2 separate regions of the Homo sapiens genome follow, and region 2 is linked to region 1. Evidence: promoter capture Hi-C in 16 types of primary human blood cells and fetal thymus (Javierre and others, 2016). All regions are on one chromosome and are shown on one strand. Each heading gives the region's core, a stretch centred on a gene start or on the middle of the fragment in contact. The rest is flanking DNA. Distances are from core to core; before and after follow the strand shown. Region 1 holds the start of RRAGA (Ras related GTP binding A). Region 2 holds the start of KLHL9 (kelch like family member 9).

Region 1 (3,822 bases), core at 509-3,008:
CCATAGCATAAGCGCTTCTACAGCTGTTACCAAACATCACTAAAGTGCTGGGGGCTAAATTCACAGAATCAAATTTGCCAGTCAAGCAATACTTGTGGGCAGTCAGAATTTTTAGATTTGCATATTAAGCACTTTCAAGTTATTTCAAATAAGGACATGTTTTAAATTGCTAACACGTTTATTCATGAATGAAGCCAAGAAGAATTTATAAATGCATTTTAATACCTTGCTGATAAAATAGTAACATTCCGTCTTTGCAATCTGATACGGAATACAGGAAGATACTGGTAAAGGCTTTGATGTGCATATCTATCATAACCAGGTAATGAGAACACACACGAACCACCTACTTTAGTGTTACACCATACCAACTTCTCAGAAAGGTCAGCTTCAAGCTCTACTGGGTAGCTGAGTAAATAGCGTCCAATGTTTAAAGACTGGGGAAGCGGGGAGAAAGATGAAAGGAGTAAGCAGCACACACTTCAAAGCCCACTTTTAAGCACACGACATTATGAATATTAAAAATAAAGGATGCAAACAAAAAAGGCAATTCAGCATTTTCAGAAAGAGCATTTGGCAATATTCAACGCATAAGGAGACTGTGCTTGGGGCCATCCACTCTCTCCAGCTTCTCAAAGTGTTTCCGGGCATTGCGAATGTTGATCAGAGTGGCCGCAGAAGGGATCGACGGATCTGACATGACCACCATCACGTACGTATTTGAGGTGAAGATGTCGATGAAAGCAGCGAAGTTGGAATTCCTAACTTCCATGCTCTGGAAGGAAGCGGCCAATTTACTGCAGCTCAGCTTGAACTGTTTGATGATGTTGCTGATCTTCTCAAACCGGTGGACGTCGCGCTGCTCTTTGCACTGGTAGTGGGAAATAACCAAGAATGTAGCTCTTTCGAACAGCAGAACTTCATCGGCCTCAATGATTTGGGCAAAATTCCTGAGGTTCATCTCCAGCTGCTGAACGTTGGGAATCAGCTGGTAGACGATGCTGGACCAGGCTTTGTAGAGCGTCTCATCCCAGATGGACGTTCGAAAACAAGCACACTCCAGCGGGCGAGACAGACGCCTCAGGTCTTCCTCTCGCTCTTTAAAAATCAGGTCACGCTGATCCTCCTGAACCAGATCCATTTTGTGCACCAGGCAGAAGATTTTGGCGTCAGGAGAGTTCTGGAGGATGGCCTCCAGACACGACTGGTAATAATGCATGTCCTTTTCCAGTTCGCGGCTCTCCACGTCAAACACGTAAATCAAAACTTCCACGTTACGGAAGATATTGTCTCGCTGGCTGGTGAAGTAATTTTCCATGAAGGTGTCCTGACCGCCACAGTCCCACAGGTTCAGCACCAGGTTCCCTAGGAATCGGACGTGGGAGTGTTCCACGTCAATGGTGGCCCCCAGGCGCCGGGTGTCGCGAGCAATGTAATTGGCGAAGATTATCGACCTCATGCTGGTCTTCCCCGACCCGCTCTTCCCCATCAGCAGCACCTTTTTCTTCATGGCTGTATTTGGCATCACCCGCCGGGGCACCGCGGACTGGGCCTGAGGGCGCGGCCTACACGCAGCGCCGAGGGAGGGGTCGGGGGCTGCCGGGGACTCGCAGGCCGCGCCTCGCTCCGCTCCGCCGCGCAGCTGGGCAGGCAGGAGAGTCGAGAGCGCGAACCCGGGGCTGGAGAGGCCGCGGACGGGCTGGCTCTTACTCAGATGGGAGCGCCCGCGGCTGTCAGTGGCAACGGCTCGGGAGATACGCTCGCTTTCCGGGAGGGAGCCGCTGCGTCCCCGCCACCACCCACTTCCGGCGGCGATCTCGCGAGAGCTCCCTCGCTCCGCCCTCCGTGCCCGACGAGCCTTGAAAAGCCGCTGCTCTAATGAAACCTAACCGGGGCGGCGTGAGCCCTAAGATGGAAGGGAAGCTCGAGGACTTCGGTCTTTTGTTCTGTTGCAGCTGGGTTTGCTGTTGCTAGGGGTACGTGTGTGGTTGGCCGGGGGAAATGCTGCCCTCTCGTGGCCAAAAAAAGCCCCAACCGCCACCACCACCGCAACTGGCTTTAGGAGCGAGGTGTGTCGGGCCGGTTTCCGCAGGGGCAGCCGACTGGTGAAGTGGAGGGAAAGCCTAACTTCCCAGTCCGCTTAGGCCTCCCCAGCTTGCCCGGCCCAGTGAGTACAAGGGCAGGGCAGATGGAGACTGTGCAGGCGCGGAAAGTGAGACTTGTAGGCAAGCGATTGCCTGTTGCTGCGCAGCTAGGTAATAGCAAGTCCCTCCTAGGAGACATCCTGGCTTCCAGTGGGTGCTTTTAATTCCTTTCTCACATCTGCTTTTCCGTAATCTCAGACTTTAGAATTTATAATTAGAATTCCAAAGCTCGAGGAAATGATAATGTGGAATCCCAGGCATTAGTTCCATCCTCACAGTAACCCTGTGAATTAATAACCCTATTTTCAAGTTAGGGAATCAAAGGTTAGAGAGGTTAAGTCACTTGACCAAGTTACACAGATACTAAATGATGAAATGGAATTTGGTTTTAGACAATCTTGCTGCGGTCTATTTGCCTAACAATAGGCTACCCTGTGCCCCTCTCAAAGCATAATATGATTCTGCTCTTGGTCTTCAAGTAGATGAGTGAATCAGTGTCGCCAGTATCGTTCATACAGAATGAATGAGAGTCATCAGGATACTGAAGCCTCTGTATCTACCTTAAAGTCCTTTTTTTTTCTTTTGAGACGGAGTCTCACTCTGTTGCCCAGGCTGGAGTGCAGTGGCGCGATCTCAGCTCACTGCAACCTACGCCTCCTGAGTTCAAGCGATTCTCCTGCCTCAGTCCCCCAAATAGCTGGGATTGTGGGCACCTGCCACCACGCCCGGCTAATTTTTGTATTTTTAGTGGAGACGGGGTTTCACTATGTTGGCCAGGCTGGTCTGGAACTCAAGCCAGCCACCTGCCTCGGCCTCCTAAAGTGTGGGATTACAGGCGTGAGCCACCGTGCCTGGCCTAAAGCCCTTATCAAAGTGTATACTGTACTGTACAAATTCAGGTATTCCATTCTTTCATTTATTCAAAAAATATTTTAATTCCTACTGTTAACGTGTGCAGTAAAAGAAGTTCAAAAATGGCCTTTGCTGTAGTTTATGGAAATCATAGAGTGAAATTCCATAATACAATATAGTATGTGGAAAATCTCCTCTCAATGTATTCAGTTTCATCTCCTTGGTGCTACCTCTTCTGGAGCCTTCTTATCTGATCGCCTTTCACCACCATTCTGGGGTTTCCCTTCCCCGTTCTTTCGAGTTGGGTATTCTTTTTCCTGATTTCACATCTTCTCATTTTTGGCTCATTTGGTGGAACACATGTTCCAATAGTTTCCAGATAAAAAGTATGAGGAGAGTAAAAATTTCAAGAGATTGGATGTCTGAAAATTTCTTTGTTTTTACCCTCACACTTGATTGGTTGGACATAATTTTTCCTCAGAGTCTTGGAGGCATTGCTCTGTTGCTCCATCGTCTTTTAGCAGCCAGTAGTCTGATGCCTGCTTCTTGGTTTTGATCTATTCTTTCCTCTCTAAAAACATATTCGAAATTTTCTTATTCTAGTGTTCTGAAACTTAATGATAATTGGCATTGTTGAGCCCAAATTTGCATTGTACTGGACTCTCCAATGTGTCTTTTAATTTGGAAACCATGCCCTTGAATTCTAAACAATGTTCTTGAATTGTTTGATGATGTATTTCCTCTATTCTGTCATGTGAATACTCCTAAGGTCTGGATATCACATTTTACGGAGTCTCCTCTAATGTATTTTTTTTCTTTTTTTTGG
Region 2 (3,822 bases), core at 864-3,363, 2.3 Mb before region 1:
AAACTCTATCTCTACTAAAAATACAAAAAATTAGCTGGGCATGGTGGCGCGCACCTGTAGTCCCAGCTACTCGGGACGCTAAGGCAGGAGAATTGCTTGACCCTGGGAGGCGGAGGTTGCAGTGAGCCGAGATCGCACCACTGTACTCCAGCCTGGGTGACAGAGCGAGACTCCGTCAAAACAAAACAAAACAAAACAAACAAACAAAATATACATAAAGTGAACACTTTTTAATGTAATTAGCACAGTGTTAAAAGTGAACATTTCATACAAGCAAAAATACTGAATACAATAAATGTAGTAGAATCAATAATTAAGTACATGGGTAAATTAATAATATCATCCATGGTGAGCTAATGCCCCTAAGAACTGGATGCTTTATCATACAGTTGCTTGACATTACCAACAAGTATTGTGACAAATTTGATTCAATCATTTCATTATGCAGGCAGAAAAGATAGTCTTTTAAAATAACTAAACATATGGGAATATAATGAAGAGTGTCTATAGTAATCATTTCATGAAGACACAAGTCTGTTCCTAAGCTATTAATCTTACTTGCAAGTTTGATGAAAAAAAGAAGGATCTCATGATTTCTTGCTCCAACTTCCCATGTACAGAGGCTCTCTTCTTTCTTTTCCAGATAGAGACTGATTCCTTGGAAGTAGCTCTTCACAGCATTAGGGAGTTGTCATGGCCTGAGAGAGCCCTTCCACCCCTAACTCATTCAACAAGCAGGGCTCCAGGACTTCCCAATGCTGATAAAAATTCAGTGAATAATTTCTCCAGGCCAGTTTCATTCCAACCAACCTCTTGTGTTGAATAAGGTGACAATCTGCTGGAGCACCTTGTGGAGGACAGTGGTAGTCTAAGCCTTCTGAATTTTGCTGCCATCCCTTGGAAACAATAGAAAACATTCAAAACAGATGAACTGCCCATCAACAGGGCACTGGTTAAATAACTTATGATGTAACAACTCAGAAGGCAACAACAGAATTGTTTAAAAATATAAATAAGCCCTCTACACTAATTCAGGAAGATCTTGAAGTGAAAAAAAAAGATGCAGAACAGTGTACATGGTATGCTATCTTTTACATAAAAACGAGGCGAGTGTAAGAAAAACATGACTACATTCTTACTTTGCATATGCATAAAGAACTAGAAGGATTTAAAAGACAGAAACTTCAAAATTTGGAAAATGGAAGAAATTGTGTCAAAGTATACATTTATTTGTATGTCAAAATTTAAATTTACCACTAATTAAAGAAATGCAAGTTAATAAAATACTCACAAAGGGAAAAGTCAGAAGAAGGGAAAGACACAAACATTGTTGGTGATAATATTTTGGAAATATTGTCTTGGATCAGTATTTTACTAAATATTATCCATAACAGGGCTAAAATTTTGCTACCAGATTGTATAAGTTTACTACCGAGTCTATAAAACAATGGAGGATAAGAAGGTACACATTCAGGAACAAACCAATGGGCAAAGGAAACTATAGTATGTATAGTTATTGGAAAATTATGTAGCCATTTTTAAAATTGTGGAAAACAAAGGCATTTCAAGCCAAAAATTTAGAATATATCATTTACATAATAAAGTAACAATCTAGTAAAGACAAATATTTTGCGTTTGAAATTGTAACAAATTTGAAAATATGAACCAAAATTGTAACTGAAGTATCTACTACATAATGTGGGATAACAATTATTGTTTTGTAGAGGAAAAAAAAAATTAAGCATCCAGGTTTCCTCTCAATTTATACAAATGCCGCATTTCACTGTTATTCAAAAAAACAGAAGCTAGGAAGCGTAAAGCTTTGAAAAATTATGCATTTGGGGAACGTAAGAGCTCAGATATGCGAAAAACTTATATCAAACGTGCAGCATAACACACTTGCTTGCACACATTCTGTCCTATTTGGTCCCACATACAAGGCAGCTCTAAGAGGCCGGGCTGGCGCCCACCCCACACAGCTCCGCTTCCCCAACCCTCGCCCTCCCGCCTCCCGGGTACTTCCTCCCCCTTCCCCACCCCCACCCTCCCGCTGACTGACGAGGTCTGGAGGCCGCGCAGCCGCAGTAGCCGCTAAGGCCGCTCCCACCCCGTGGTATCCTGGGACTAGGCTTTTCCGGAAGGAGCGGCTCGGTGTTGGGGCTAGGCCGGTATTCTAGGCCCAAGCCCAGGCCCAGGCCTGTGTTCCCGGCCCTTGCTCAAAGACAGGCCGGTGGCCGCTGCGACACTCTAGGTACAGCGGAGGGCGCAGCGGGCCGTTCGCTGAGGTGTCCGGACCCGCCGCCGAGCGGGCCGTGGAGCCACAGTACGTGGCGGCGCCTCTTCCTTGCCCGAAGCGGAACTGCTGAAGGAGCGGCAGCGCAGGCCGGACGAGGTGAACCAGGTCATTTAACCGCCTTCAGGTGATGAATCATCTGTCTAATAATCAGATTTGAGGTCCACAGCCCTTTGTGGTCCTGCTACAGGGTGATTTTCAGTGGATGACTGACTGGCGTGGCCCGAGGGGTGCCGCAGTGACTGCCTTCCCTTGATAAGGAAACGAGCTTTCTGTTCTTTCTGGACACCTCGTTACCTGTAAAACATTCCGGTTATAACTTCTTTATCCGGCTTGCATCTCTGTGCAAGAGGAAAGCTTTCACATGAAAGTGTCCCTTGGTAACGGCGAAATGGGCGTCTCTGCCCATTTGCAGCCTTGTAAGGCAGGAACCACACGCTTTTTTACCAGCAATACTCACAGTTCGGTGGTATTGCAAGGCTTTGATCAGCTTAGAATAGAAGGATTGCTTTGTGATGTGACCCTGGTACCAGGTGATGGAGATGAAATCTTCCCTGTTCACAGAGCTATGATGGCGTCTGCTAGTGATTATTTCAAAGCCATGTTCACAGGTGGAATGAAAGAACAAGATTTGATGTGCATTAAGCTTCATGGGGTGAACAAGGTTGGTCTGAAGAAAATCATTGATTTTATTTATACTGCAAAACTTTCTCTTAATATGGACAATCTTCAGGACACACTTGAAGCTGCTAGCTTTTTACAAATATTACCCGTTTTGGATTTCTGTAAAGTATTTCTTATATCAGGAGTCTCTTTGGATAACTGTGTTGAGGTTGGACGAATTGCTAACACCTACAATCTTATAGAAGTGGATAAATATGTTAATAATTTCATCCTGAAGAACTTTCCTGCTTTATTGAGTACTGGGGAGTTTCTAAAACTCCCTTTTGAACGACTTGCATTTGTGCTTTCCAGTAATAGTCTTAAGCACTGTACCGAACTTGAACTCTTTAAGGCAGCCTGTCGCTGGCTAAGGTTGGAAGACCCTCGGATGGATTATGCTGCAAAGTTAATGAAGAATATTCGATTTCCACTGATGACACCACAGGATCTCATCAATTACGTGCAGACAGTAGATTTCATGAGAACAGACAATACCTGCGTGAATTTGCTTTTGGAAGCTAGCAATTACCAAATGATGCCATATATGCAGCCAGTGATGCAGTCAGATAGAACTGCCATTCGATCTGACTCCACTCACTTGGTTACATTAGGAGGAGTTTTGAGGCAGCAGCTGGTTGTCAGTAAAGAATTACGGATGTATGATGAAAGGGCACAAGAATGGAGATCTTTAGCCCCAATGGATGCTCCCCGTTACCAGCATGGTATTGCTGTCATTGGAAACTTTCTTTATGTAGTTGGTGGTCAGAGTAATTATGATACAAAAGGAAAAACTGCTGTTGATACAGTTTTCAGATTTGATCCTCGGTATAATAAATGGATGCAGGTTGCATCATTAAATGAAAAGC

The links. The method cuts DNA at HindIII sites, captures the fragments that hold promoters and counts their contacts. A CHiCAGO score of 5 or more calls a contact.
Region 2: the fragment with the promoter of KLHL9 here is called in contact with the fragment with the promoter of RRAGA in region 1 in 1 of 17 cell types (M2 macrophages); the score reaches 5.4 in M2 macrophages.

Annotation. Positions count from the first base shown.
Region 1 is chr9:19,047,363-19,051,184 of GRCh38, reverse strand. RRAGA (Ras related GTP binding A) reads right to left here and starts at 1,758. Exons shown (of 1, transcript NM_006570.5): 1 at 160-1,758. The coding sequence starts at 1,525. The coding sequence ends at 584. It also overlaps a transcript of SAXO1 not described here. RefSeq lists a silencer at 1,500-1,689 and an enhancer at 1,297-1,818. The HindIII fragment of the contact is 15,757 bases long and covers 1-3,822 here.
Region 2 is chr9:21,333,695-21,337,516 of GRCh38, reverse strand. KLHL9 (kelch like family member 9) reads left to right here and starts at 2,113. Exons shown (of 1, transcript NM_018847.4): 1 at 2,113-3,822. The coding sequence starts at 2,658. It overlaps LOC107987053 (a long non-coding RNA gene), which reads right to left. Exons shown (of 3, transcript XR_001746634.2): 3 at 216-896. RefSeq lists a silencer at 1,924-2,093 and enhancers at 2,134-2,443, 2,634-2,683. The HindIII fragment of the contact is 830 bases long and covers 1,823-2,652 here.